Regions from separate parts of the Homo sapiens genome. Here region 1 is linked to region 2. Evidence: promoter capture Hi-C in 16 types of primary human blood cells and fetal thymus (Javierre and others, 2016). All regions are on one chromosome and are shown on one strand. Each heading gives the region's core, a stretch centred on a gene start or on the middle of the fragment in contact. The rest is flanking DNA. Distances are from core to core; before and after follow the strand shown. Region 1 holds the start of BRSK1 (BR serine/threonine kinase 1). Region 2 overlaps LENG8 (leukocyte receptor cluster member 8).

Region 1 (6,311 bases), core at 1,895-4,394, 830 kb after region 2:
TTGGTGGGGAGGCCCGAGGCCTCTGTGCTCCAGAAGTGGGGTTTAGGCCTGGGCACGTGCTGGTGCGGGCCGATCTGCAGAGGTGTTGGCCCTGGGCTGGGCTTAAAGAAACTCCCGTGTTGATCCTGGATAGGAGGCGTTTTCCTCCAGGAAAAGGTTGTGCTCAACGCAAAACGGGCACACAGTCACAAACGTATCAATCACCTGCTGGGCGTGGTTGTGCAGGGGGATATTTTGGGCAGAAACAGGAAGACCAAACAGATAGGTTGTGTGTGTATGTGTGTGTGTGTGTGTGTGTGTGTGTGTGTGTGGTGTTTCTAGCACTGTGCTGTGAGATGCATCTGGGCCTGTGGATGTGCTATTATATTAGTTTCCTATTGCTGCTGTTAACAAATTACTAAGAATGTGGTGGCTTAAAACAGCACACATTTATTATCTTGCAGTTATGGAGGGCAGAAATCCAAAATGGGTTTCACGGGGCTGAAATCAAACTGTCAGCAGGATTGCATCACTTCTGGAGGCTCTCGGGGAGAATGTTTTTCTTGCCTTTTCCAGCTTCTAGAGGCCACACTCTTTCTTTGACAGGTGGCCCCATCACCCCAAGTTCTGCTTCCACCTTCCCATCTCCATCACTGACTGCTCCTCCTGCCTCCTTCTCACAAATACTCTTGTGATTCCATCGAGCTCACCCAAATAACTGGGATAATCTCCCTATCTCAGTCACATGGGCAAAGTCCCTTCAGCCATGCAAGGTAACTTATGCACAGATCCTGGGAATTAGGACACGGACATCTATGTACAAGTCTATCAGTTTATAATACATGGCCGGGGGCAGTGGCTCAGGTCTATAATCTCAGTACTTTGGGAGGCCAAGGTGGGAGGATCACTTGAACCCAAGAGCTCGAGACCAGCCTGGGCAACATAGTGTGTCCCCAGCCCTACAAAAAAATACAAGAATTAGCCATGTGTGATGGCATCTGCTTATATCACAGCTAGGCAGGAGGCTGAGGCAGGAGGATCACTTGAGCCCAGGAGGTCGAGGCTGCAGGGAACTATGACTGCCCTACTGCACCCCAGCCTAGGCAACAGGGGGAAGACCCTGTCTCAAAAAACAAAACAAAACAAAAAAAAGAGGGTGATCATATAATTTTTCATCTATAGCAAGACATTTGAGAGCAAAAAGGGACTCAATAGTTACAGAACCAGGCCAGGTGTGGTAGCTCACGCCTGTAATCCCAGCACTTTGGGAAGCTGAGGTGGGCAAATCACAAGGTCAGGAGTTTGAGACCAGCCTGACCAACATGGTGAAACCCCATCTCTACTAAAAATACAAAAATTAGCCAGGCATGGTGGCGGGTGCCTATAATCCCAGCTACTCGGGAGGCTGAGGCAGGAGAATCGCTTGAACCCAGGATGTGGAGGTTGTAGTGAGCTGAGATTGTGCCACTGCACTCCAGCCTGGGAGACAGAGCAAGATTCCGTCTCAAAAAAAAAAAAAAAAAAAAAAAAAAAAAAAAAAAAAGGCTACAGAACCAGCCTGGCTAACAGGGTGAAACTCCATCTCTACTAAAAATACAAAAAAAGCCGGACGCCTAAAATTGTACCCTGCTCAACAGGCCCCTCTTAACCCCCTTCCCTGCTGTAGTCACCTCCTCAGCACGGACATGATTATCTAACACACCATACATTTTGCCTATTGACCTTGCTGATCATCTGTTTCATCCACCAGCATGGAAGCTCCACAGGACAGGCCTTTTTGCTGATTTAGGTCACTGCCACGTTCTTACCAACAGGAACAGTGCCTGGCTGAGATTTGGCACTCATTAAAGATGTGTGGACTCAAGGTGTTGAATGGGGGACTGGGAAATCTCACAGGAGCCAATAGGCTCCTGTGTGCACTTTATTTTATTTTATTTTTGTTAGAGACAGGGCCTCACTCTGTTGCTCAGGCTGGAGTGCAGTGGTGCAAACGTAGCTCACTGCAGCCTAGAACTCACTGACTCAAGCCTCAGCCTCCCAAGTAGCTGGGACTACAGGCACATGCCACCATGCCCGGCTAATTTTTAAAAAAATTTTTGTAGGGATGGGGTCTCACTGTGTTGCCCAGGCTGATCTTCCCACCTCTGTCTCCCAAAGTATTGGGATTACAGGCATGAGCCACCTTGCCCAGCCCTGGGTGTGCTTTACAGGGGACTTGAGAATTAAATGGGTGTCTAACACTTGCGGGTACATGACATAGAGGGATCTATGGTTTATGCGGAAAGCTAATGGGGGCAGGCGGGTTACTCACAGGCAGAGCACATGCTTGTGGACCTGCTACAGTGGGGATGTATGGGCTGTACTGGGGTCCACATGAAGATATAAAGGACCCTATGACGAGCACAGAGAATATATGGGGGTCTAAAAACATAACACAGGGAAACTGAGGGGGTTCTGGAAGCTTCTCTGTAAAGAGAATCCAAAATCACTCTGGGCTGTGGGTAGATATGGGGCCTTGACATTGGTGGGGACACAGACTTACCCTTACCCTGAATGGGTGGCCTTAGGGGGCTGGGGAAACAGACATGAATTTTGGGTCAGCAACTCCAAGAATTCTTTCCCCTCTCTGTCTCTGTCTCCCTCCATATGTCCCCACCTCTCCCCAGCACGTGTCCCTCCACCTGTGTGTACCCCCGGCCCTCTCTACAGCTCCATCTGCGCCCCCTCTCCCCCACCTCTCTGGTTGGTCTTCCTCTCTCTGTCTCTCTGAATCTCTGACTCTCTCCATCCCTCTGTCGGCTTCCAGCAGCTTTCTCTCCCTCTCCCTGTCTGTTTTCCCGGCTTGCCATTCCTTCCTTCTCTTCTGTCCCTGTCCATCTCTGCCCTTCCTCCCTCTCTGCCTCAGCCTGTCTCTGGTGGTCTCCATCCCTCTGGCGTCTCTGCCTGTCTCCCGTCTCTGTGTCAGCCAGCATCTCTCTTTGTGTATCTCCATCTCTGCCCCATCTGTTGGGTCCTCTCTCTCTCTCTCCATCCTTCCCTCCATCCTCTCTCCTGCATCCTCCCACCTCCTCTCCATCCCTCCAGCTGGAGGCCCGCCCCCTGCCCCCCCTCGCTCCCCCTCCCCCCTCCGAAAGGGTTAACTTTGGGGAAGGGCCCGGAGTCCCCGGATGGTGATGTCAGCGTGCCGGAGAGAAAGGACGAGGTGGCGGGGGGAGGCGGAGAGGAGGAGGAGGCGGAGGAGAGAGGGCGCGTGGGGGGGCGGGGGGGACCTCGGCCTGCAGCATCCGCCGGCCCGCACCTCAGACCCCCCCGGCGGGGGGAGGCGCAGGAAGCGGGGGGCCGGCCAGAAACGGGCTGGGGAGGGGGGGCCCCGCAGCCCCCCTGGGCCATGCTGACTCCCGGGGCCTGACCCCCCCGGGCCAGCCCCCCCTCCCCCAGCTCCGCGGCCCGCCGACTGGGGGGGGCCAGCCCAGCCCCCTGGGGACCCCCGGAGAGGTGGGGGGCAGCCGGGGGGGCCGGGACGGAGCGGTCGCCGGCCCCCACCGGAGAGACGGGGCGACGGCCGCAGGGGGGGCGGCCGGGGGACCGGTCGGGCCGGGACCAAGGGCACCATGTCGTCCGGGGCCAAGGAGGGAGGTGGGGGCTCTCCCGCCTACCACCTCCCCCACCCCCACCCCCACCCACCCCAGCACGCCCAATATGTGGGCCCCTATCGGCTGGAGAAGACGCTGGGCAAAGGACAGACAGGTGAGCCTAGCAGAAGGGGACACCTGGGGCGGGGGGCAGGGTGGAGGTGGCGGCAGAGGCGGGACTCAGGGTATTCAAATGGCAGGGGCTGGCTGCCCAGACCCCTGGGCCCCTCATAGAGAAGGGACTTGGGATTCAGACTCCTGGGTCCCTGGATGGAGGGGGTGGGGGGCGCAGACTCAGGTCCTGGAGGAGAGGGGCTGGGGGCCTGGACTCCTGGGTCTGAGGGAGGAGGGGCTGGGCACTGGACTCCTAGGTCTGAGGGAGGAGGGCCTGGGGGCCTGGACTCCTGGGTTTCAGGGAGGAGGGCCTGGGGGTCTGGACTCCTGGGTTTCAGGGAGGAGGGGCTGTGCTTGGACTCCGGAGTCTGAGGGAGGAGAGGCTGGTGGCCTGCACTCCTGGGTCTGAAGGAGAAGGGCTTGGGGGCCTGGACTCCAGGGTCTGAGGGAGGAGGGGCTGGGGGTCTGGACTTCTGGGTCTGAGGGAGGAGGGGACTGGGGTCCTGGACTTTTGGGTTTGAGGGAGGAGGGACTGCGGTCCTGGACTTTCAGGTCTGAGGGAGGAGGGCCTGGGGGCCTGGACTCCTGAGTATGAAGGAAGAGGGTCTGGGGTCTGGACTCCTGGGTCTGAGGGAGGAGGGGCAGGGGTGCTGAACTCCTGGGTCTGAAGGAGGAGGGGCTGGGGGCCTGGACTCCTGAGTCTGAGGGAGGAGGGCGGTCGGAACCTTGAGTGTTGGGACAGGGAGTTTGGGGCCCCAGTGCTCCAGTCCCCATAGGGGCAGAGGCTGGAGGGGCTCCAGGGCCAGGGAGGGGATGGAGGCGGCCTGCAGAGTGGGGCCGGGCTGGGACCTGAGGTTCTTGCTGCAGTACAGCTGCAGACCGGGGTGCAGTGCATCCATCCTGGGAAACCTCTTCCCTCCCCACTGTCCTCTGGCCTCCAGTTCTCCAGGCAGCAGGTTGGGGTGACAGGGGCCGTGGGGCCTAAGACATTCTCCCCTTCTCTGGCATGCTGGCTCAGAGTGGGAAACAGGATGGAGGGTGGGAAGGTGGGCTGCAGCAGGCGCGTCTCCTGGAGCGGCTGTGGAAAGGGCGTTCATCCTCTGCTGTTGCTGAACGCTGGCCACCGGCCGCGGCCTCCTTCCTGCCGGATGGATGGTGGGTGGAGGTGACATGGGAGCTGAACGCCCAGAGTCTCTATGAAGCTCAGGGCCAGAGCTGGCAGGAGTGGGGACCGACTGGGCCGTAACTGGGAGCTGAGACCCTAGGGAAAAGGAGAGGGTCAAAGTCCCAGATCCTGAGTGGTAAGAGTGTGAAGGTGTTGCTGACCTGAATTCCTGAGTTACAGGAGAAGAAGGGGTCAGACCTGGACTGGGTCTGAGGGAGGAGGGGCTGGGCCTGGAGTGCTGGGTCTGAGGGAGGAGGAACTGGGGGTCTGGAGTGCTGAGTCTAAGGGAGGAGGGGCTGGGGGTCTGGAGTGCTGGGTCTGAGGGAGGAGGGGCTGGGGGCCTGGAGTGCTGGGTCTGAGGGAGGAGGGGCTGGGGGCCTGGAGTGCTGGGTCTGAGGGAGGAAGGGGCTGGGGGGGCTGGATTCCTGGGTCTGAGGGAGGAGGGGCTGGGGTCTGGACTCCTGGGTCTGAGGGAGGATGGAATGGGGGCCTGGACTCCTGGGTCTGAGGGAGGAGGGGCTGGGGGTCTGGACGCCTGGGCCTGCAGCTTTAGGGGCTAGTCAGGGCTAGGTCTGTGGCTTTGGGGGCTCAGGTCCTGGAGTCGAGGGTCCTGAGGAGAGGTGTGGGCTAGGAGACCGGACATACCCTTGGTGTCTGTGTGCTGTCTGTTAGGGCTGCCATGAAGAGAAGACCCAGGAAGGCAGTTGAGGCTGGGGGTTCAGGAGAAGGTGGAGGGTGATCTGGGGAGGGGCAAATGTGAGATTATATTCACTGGGAGGGGATTCAGGAGGAGGTGGAGGGTGGTCTGGGGAGGGGGCAAATGTGAGACTATATTCGTTGGGAGTCATAGGGTCTCCAAAAGATTGAAAAGCAGAGAATACAAGGAATTGATGGAGAGAGACAGAGAAAGTGGGGGGGCGGGGGCTTGGAGGAGACAGACTCGGGGAGACACGGTGAGGAAAGAATGCGTGGCAGGCGGGCTCCCCAGGACGGAGAGGGTGAGGGCCAGGGGGTGGCTGGCAGAGGAGAGGGGCACCTGGCTGGATGGACAGTCAGGAGGAACGGACTGGCAGGAGGGAGGGGAAGGGTGGTTTTGTGGGAGTGTGGGCTCTCAGCCCCAGGAGTTCAGGTCTGATGTGTTCAGGCCATTGTTAAACAGCCAGCCCAGGAGGAAGGAGCAAACAGGGTGGCCAAGGGGGGACATAGGCGCTGGGGACGAAGGGGACCCGGCGGAACACCCCACATTTTCACCCTGCTCCTGCAGGGCTGGTTAAACTCGGGGTCCACTGCATCACGGGTCAGAAGGTCGCCATCAAGATCGTGAACCGGGAGAAGCTGTCGGAGTCGGTGCTGATGAAGGTGTGTGCGCCTGCTGCAGTGTGCCTGCGGGTGGGGGGGCCTCCGGGGCTGAGGGCAGGGGC
Region 2 (5,779 bases), core at 775-3,274:
CTGGGACAGCTCCAGCCACACAGCACAGCCAGGCGGGGCCCGCCACGGGCCAGGCCTATGGGCCACACACCTACACCGAACCTGCCAAGCCCAAGAAGGGCCAACAGCTGTGGAACCGCATGAAACGTAAGTTGGCAGAGCTACGTGGAGGTCCGAGCGGTTGGGCCCTCATAAGAGCTCCTGGGTGTGAGGCCCGTGGTGTGTGCTGCTCCTTGTTTCTGGGTGTTGTGATCGCCAGGCTGGGGGTGGGGCTGCTCTGGACCAGGCACATGTGTGCTGGAGCCCTCCTCTAGAACCTGAGCGCTCCTCCCTGCATTTCCACTTCCTCCCGTCCCCTGGGGACCCCTGGATGTGCCGGGGAAGGGCCTAACCATAGCTTTCGCTGCCCTCACAGCCGCCCCTGGGACTGGAGGTCTCAAGTTCAACATCCAGAAGCGACCCTTTGCTGTTACCACCCAGAGCTTTGGCTCCAACGCAGAGGGCCAGCACAGTGGTTTTGGCCCCCAGCCCAACCCTGAGAAAGTTCAGAACCACAGGTGACGTCTGCCCCCTTGCCCCGTCGCAGCCCCACACTCTGCACTCAGCGTCTATGGTCCAGTCCCACTGGCCAGCTGCCCACCCTGAGCCTCAGTGTGCGCCTCTGAAAAGGGCAGAAGGACCCTCTCTTGGGGGTTGCTGTGAGCACTGAAGGAGACAGAAGGAAAACTTGGGGACTGCGTCCCGCTGTGTCAGCTCAGAGTGGCGGTGGGGATGGTCTTTTGAGTTTGGGATCGTCTCCAGCTGAGCCCCTCATCTGTCCTCCCGCAGCGGGTCCTCTGCCCGGGGGAACCTGTCTGGGAAGCCGGATGACTGGCCCCAGGACATGAAAGAGTATGTGGAGCGCTGCTTCACCGCCTGTGAGTCGGAGGAGGACAAGGACCGCACGGAAAAGCTGCTCAAGGAGGTGCTGCAGGCGCGGCTGCAGGACGGCTCGGCCTATACCATTGACTGGAGCCGGGAGCCCTTGCCGGGGTTAGTCTGGGTGGGGGACATAGGTGGGAGGGTGGTGCTGTGAGAGGCATGGGCTGGGTATGGAGGTAGGAGAGTTGCGGGTCCCAGGTACCAGGAGCTCCAAAGAGAAATGAACTGGAAAGTTGGATCCTGGGGGGATGAAGTCCTGGTTGGAGGGAGGCCGGTGGGGTGGGGTGGGGACCATGGGTGCTGGAGAGGCGTGCATTGCTCAGTGGTTAAGCGCACCCTCTGGAGACGGAAAACCTGGGTTCGCGTCTCATTTCTGCACTGTAGTAGCTGAGCCGCCTGGGGTAAGTGCCTTTCCTTTCGGAGGCGGGTCGGTACCTTGAGGGAGGTGGTGGCGGCTGTCCTGCCAGTGTCTGGCGGGGTTGGTGACGCCCTGCCCTGCTGTATTCTCAGGCTGACCCGGGAGCCTGTGGCTGAGAGCCCTAAGAAGAAGCGGTGGGAGGCCGCTAGCAGCCTTCACCCTCCTAGAGGGGCAGGCTCGGCGACAAGGGGCGGGGGTGCCCCGTCCCAGCGAGGGACGCCCGGGGCTGGGGGTGCCGGTCGAGCCCGGGGCAACAGCTTCACCAAGTTTGGCAACCGCAACGTCTTCATGAAGGACAACAGCTCTTCTTCCAGCACAGACTCCCGCTCCCGCTCCTCCTCCAGGTCCCCGACGCGCCACTTCCGCAGAAGGTACTGAGGCTCCCGGCTGGGGCTGTGTGTGAGGGAGGGGGAGGCGTTTCAGGCCTGACCCTCCTGCTTCTTCCTGCAGTGACTCCCACTCAGACTCCGACAGCTCCTACTCAGGGAATGAGTGTCACCCTGTGGGCCGCAGGAACCCGCCCCCTAAGGGCCGGGGCGGTCGAGGGGCCCATATGGATCGGGGCCGAGGCAGGGCGCAGCGTGGGAAGAGGTGAGACTGTGTGAGGGCTCGACACACGGGCCAGGGTGGAGGAGGGTACTGGGGACCCATGGGAGAAGGAGGAGGAGGGCCGGACAGGTGGACAGCCAGCTGCCAAAGGGGCGAGGCTGAAGGGGGGCTGGAGACGCCTGTCGCGCTCACTGCCCCTCATCCCTTCCTAGGCACGATCTGGCGCCCACCAAGCGCAGTCGAAAGAAGATGGCGGCGCTGGAGTGTGAGGACCCGGAGCGAGAGCTGAAGAAGCAGAAGCGGGCAGCCCGCTTCCAGCACGGACACTCCCGCCGCCTGCGCCTCGAGCCCCTGGTGCTGCAGATGAGCAGCCTGGAGAGCAGTGGGGCTGACCCTGACTGGCAGGAGCTGCAGATCGTGGGCACCTGCCCTGACATCACCAAGCACTACCTGCGCCTCACCTGTGCCCCCGACCCGTCCACCGTGCGCCCTGTGGCAGTAAGTGCCCAGCAGGGCAGTTCTGCTCTGTGAGGCCGTGCTGGCTCAGGACTTGGGGAGCCAACCCAGGGAGGGTGGCAGAGGCCACACGGGGGCTCTGGTATGGCAGGGGAAGCTCGGCCAGAGACGCCTCGGCTGGTCGGCATTCTGAGAGGAGCGCAAAGGCGCTCTGCTGCCCTGGAGCCCCGCGTGGCGGGTGTGCAGCTTGGCCGGCGAATCGCTTGACCTCTGGGCCGTGGTTCCTGGCTTAGGTGACACGGAGCATAAAGCCTTCTCCCAGGCCCGTGGGCTGTGGGGCGTGGGGGGCTGTGTTTCCAGTGTTTGGCGTAGTCACTGTTCTGCTGCAGAACCTGTGAACAGCCATGTGCTTATAGGGAAATGGGTGTGGAGGTGGCCACTCTTAACCCATGTCTTGTGGGTTTGTTTTCTCTTTTTTTGGGAGAGAGTCTGGCTCTGTCGCCCAAGCTGGAGTGCAATGGCGTGATCTTGGCTCACCGCAGCCTCCGCTCCCCGGCTTCAAGCGATTCTCCTGCCTCAGCCTCCCTAGTGGCTGGGATTACAGGCGTCTGCCACTACGCCTGGCTGATTTTTGTATTTTTAGTAGAGACGGGGTTTCACCATGTTGGCCAGGTTGGTCTCAAACTCCTGACCTCAGATGATCCACACACCTCGGCCTCCCAAAGTGCTGGGATTACAGGCGTGAGCCACTGCGCCTGGCCTTTTTTTTCTTTTTTTAATGTTGCAACTCTCCCACCAAATAAGTGGAAGCCGTTGGCCACGCTACCTGAGTTGTACTCCGAGTGTGAATTCAGTTCCCTTTTTCAGGTTTTGAAAAAGTCGCTGTGCATGGTCAAGTGCCACTGGAAAGAGAAGCAGGACTACGCGTTTGCCTGCGAGCAGATGAAGTCGATCCGGCAGGATCTGACGGTGAGACTCGCGCTGGGAGGGGCCTGGCCTCAGCCAGTCCTGCCTCCCGCTCCTTGTGACTCTTGTTCTCGCCCCGCTGCCCCAGGTGCAGGGCATCCGCACCGAGTTCACGGTGGAGGTGTACGAGACCCATGCCCGGATCGCCTTGGAGAAGGTGAGCTGGCCTCTGCGGGCCTCCCCAGCCCCTTTCCTGCTGCCGTTCTGCCCTCAGCACCCTCACTCTGCTCTCCTCCCTCGGTGCCTCTGCCTTCCAGGGTGACCATGAAGAGTTTAACCAGTGCCAGACGCAGCTCAAGTCGCTGTACGCCGAGAACTTGCCTGGCAATGTGGGCGAGTTTACTGCCTACCGAATCCTCTACTACATCTTCACCAAGAACTCGGGAGGTGAGGCCCAGTCCCCAGGACAGAGGCCATGGTACCCAGGGTTGAGCCCTGCTGACTTCACCCTCTTTGTCTTGGTGCTAGACATCACCACGGAGCTGGCATACCTCACACGAGAACTGAAGGCAGATCCTTGCGTGGCCCACGCCTTGGCATTAAGGACAGCCTGGGCCCTGGGCAACTACCACCGCTTTTTCCGGCTCTACTGCCATGCACCCTGCATGTCTGGCTACCTCGTGGACAAGTTTGCAGATCGGGAGCGCAAGGTCGCCCTCAAGGCCATGATCAAAACGTATGTGGTGCCAAGCTCCCTTCTGCCTTTGCTCTTCCCATCCTTCCGCCTCGCACCGCCCCTCAGACCAGCTCCTGGCCGCAGGCCTCCCCCAGCCCCCAACCCTTGTCCTGGTCCTTGCTTCCCCATCATCTTTCTCCATTCAGCCCTCCCCTCTCCAGTTCCTCTTGCTCTCCTTGTTGGTCACCTCTGTGTTCCGGGTCACTCCTCTCCCTCTCCCCACTGTTCCCAGCTCACTGCCTCTGGGGCCTCTTCTCCACCCCATCTGTGTGTCTCTTCCTCCTGTTCTCTCCTGCCTGGACCCCCTAGTTCACTCCTTGCCCTGGGCTTCCTCAGAACCCTGAGGTCTCTGCTTTCTCAGCTTGTCGCTGTGCTCCCACCATAGAGACCATCTAGACAGCCTCTGGTCTACCAGGACAAGGCCCAGTCCCACTCAGCTCCTTTGAGAGCACCAGAAACGCTTAGGGAGACACCTGTGTTGAGGCCACACTGGGCGCGGTGCCAGAGGCCCCTGGTCAGGCCATGCCCCTGCAGTGTCCTTCGTTCACTAGACATTGCGCCTGGCTTGCTGTGGGTGGGGATGAGTTGCTTGACTCATGTTTAGACGCATGGTTCTGTCTGGTGATTGAGGTGCCCAGGCGACGCTGGGCAATGTCAAGAGAGGTTTTCGCTTGTCACAGCAAGGGGATGCTCTTGGCATCTAGTGAGTGGAGGCCAGGGATGCTGCCCTGCCACTGCCATTGGGCCTCAGAGCTCAGTCTTGCCAAGGTGGAGAAATTCTGGTCGAAGAGGTTGACCGGTAGACTGAAGAGGCCTTGAGAGCCTGGCCAGGTGGCTGTCCACGTGAGGTCATAGTCACAGCATGGAGGCCTTGAGAGCCTGGCCAGGTGGCCCTCCACGTGAGGTCATGGTCACAGCATGGGGGCCTTGAGTGCCTGGCCAGGTGGCCCTCCACGTGAGGTCATGGTCACAGCATGGAGGCCTTGAGAGCCTGGCCAGGTGGCCCTCCACGTGAGGTTGTGGTCACAGCATGGGGGCCTTGAGAGCCTGGCCAGGTGGCCCTCCACGTGAGGTCATGGTCACAGCATGGAGGCCTTGAGAGCCTGGCCAGGTGGCCCTCCGTGTGAGGTCATGGTCACAGCATAGTTTGGAGCTAGGGAGGGACTGTCAGCCTGGAGGTTTGGAGACTCATTCTGGAATCTAGTGTGGGTCAAGCCAACTTCAGGGAGAGGCTGAGCCAGGGTAGGAGTCACAGGAGCAGACGAGGATGTGGGGTGCCGTGCACAGAGCTCCATGACCAGCTTGGGAAGTTAGAAGGAAGGGGAGGCAGGAGGCTGCTTAGTCTGCTGCCATGATGGGCCCCATGAATGGTGGCTCTCAAGCTTCTGTGCTACACAGGGGTGTGTGGTTGGGCGAGTGTCCTTGTTAATTGATACCTAATTGGCCTTGGTTGGGAACATAGCCATGAGTGCCCCTCGTGGGTGGGGCGCCAGTCTGTCATTGACCTCATTGTGTCAGCACCTTCCCCCCAAGGAGGCTGACCCTGCCCTGCCAGCTGAGACTGGGAGACGGAGTGGGCTCTGATCCCAGGGCTTCCAGGAAAGCTCTGGCTTTGGAGCAGAAGCGGGTTCTAGGACTTAGTGCCCCTCACTCGGTGCCTGGGTTCCTGTGTGTGTGGAAAGGGTAGGGCTGCACCCTGTGGAAGAGGGTTCAGGGAGCTCTGAGGACCTGGCTCGTGCTAGATGCTCAGTCAGTAGTGTGTTTTAGCAGCAGCCGGAAGTGACTGCTTTCAGTGTGTAGTGGTGAGTGCTAGC

The links. The method cuts DNA at HindIII sites, captures the fragments that hold promoters and counts their contacts. A CHiCAGO score of 5 or more calls a contact.
Region 1: the fragment with the promoter of BRSK1 here is called in contact with a fragment that was not itself captured in region 2 in 1 of 17 cell types (naive CD4 T cells); the score reaches 5.7 in naive CD4 T cells.

Annotation. Positions count from the first base shown.
Region 1 is chr19:55,280,853-55,287,163 of GRCh38, forward strand. BRSK1 (BR serine/threonine kinase 1) reads left to right here and starts at 3,145. Exons shown (of 19, transcript NM_032430.2): 1 at 3,145-3,726; 2 at 6,155-6,249. The coding sequence starts at 3,591. The HindIII fragment of the contact is 8,428 bases long and covers 2,439-6,311 here.
Region 2 is chr19:54,454,557-54,460,335 of GRCh38, forward strand. It overlaps LENG8 (leukocyte receptor cluster member 8), which reads left to right. Exons shown (of 16, transcript NM_052925.4): 6 at 1-126; 7 at 395-536; 8 at 808-1,011; 9 at 1,411-1,689; 10 at 1,769-1,909; 11 at 2,080-2,365; 12 at 3,191-3,292; 13 at 3,378-3,446; 14 at 3,547-3,676; 15 at 3,758-3,965. Among named protein-coding and RNA genes, the nearest start is that of LENG9, 6.3 kb to the right of the region's middle. The HindIII fragment of the contact is 6,641 bases long and covers 1-5,345 here.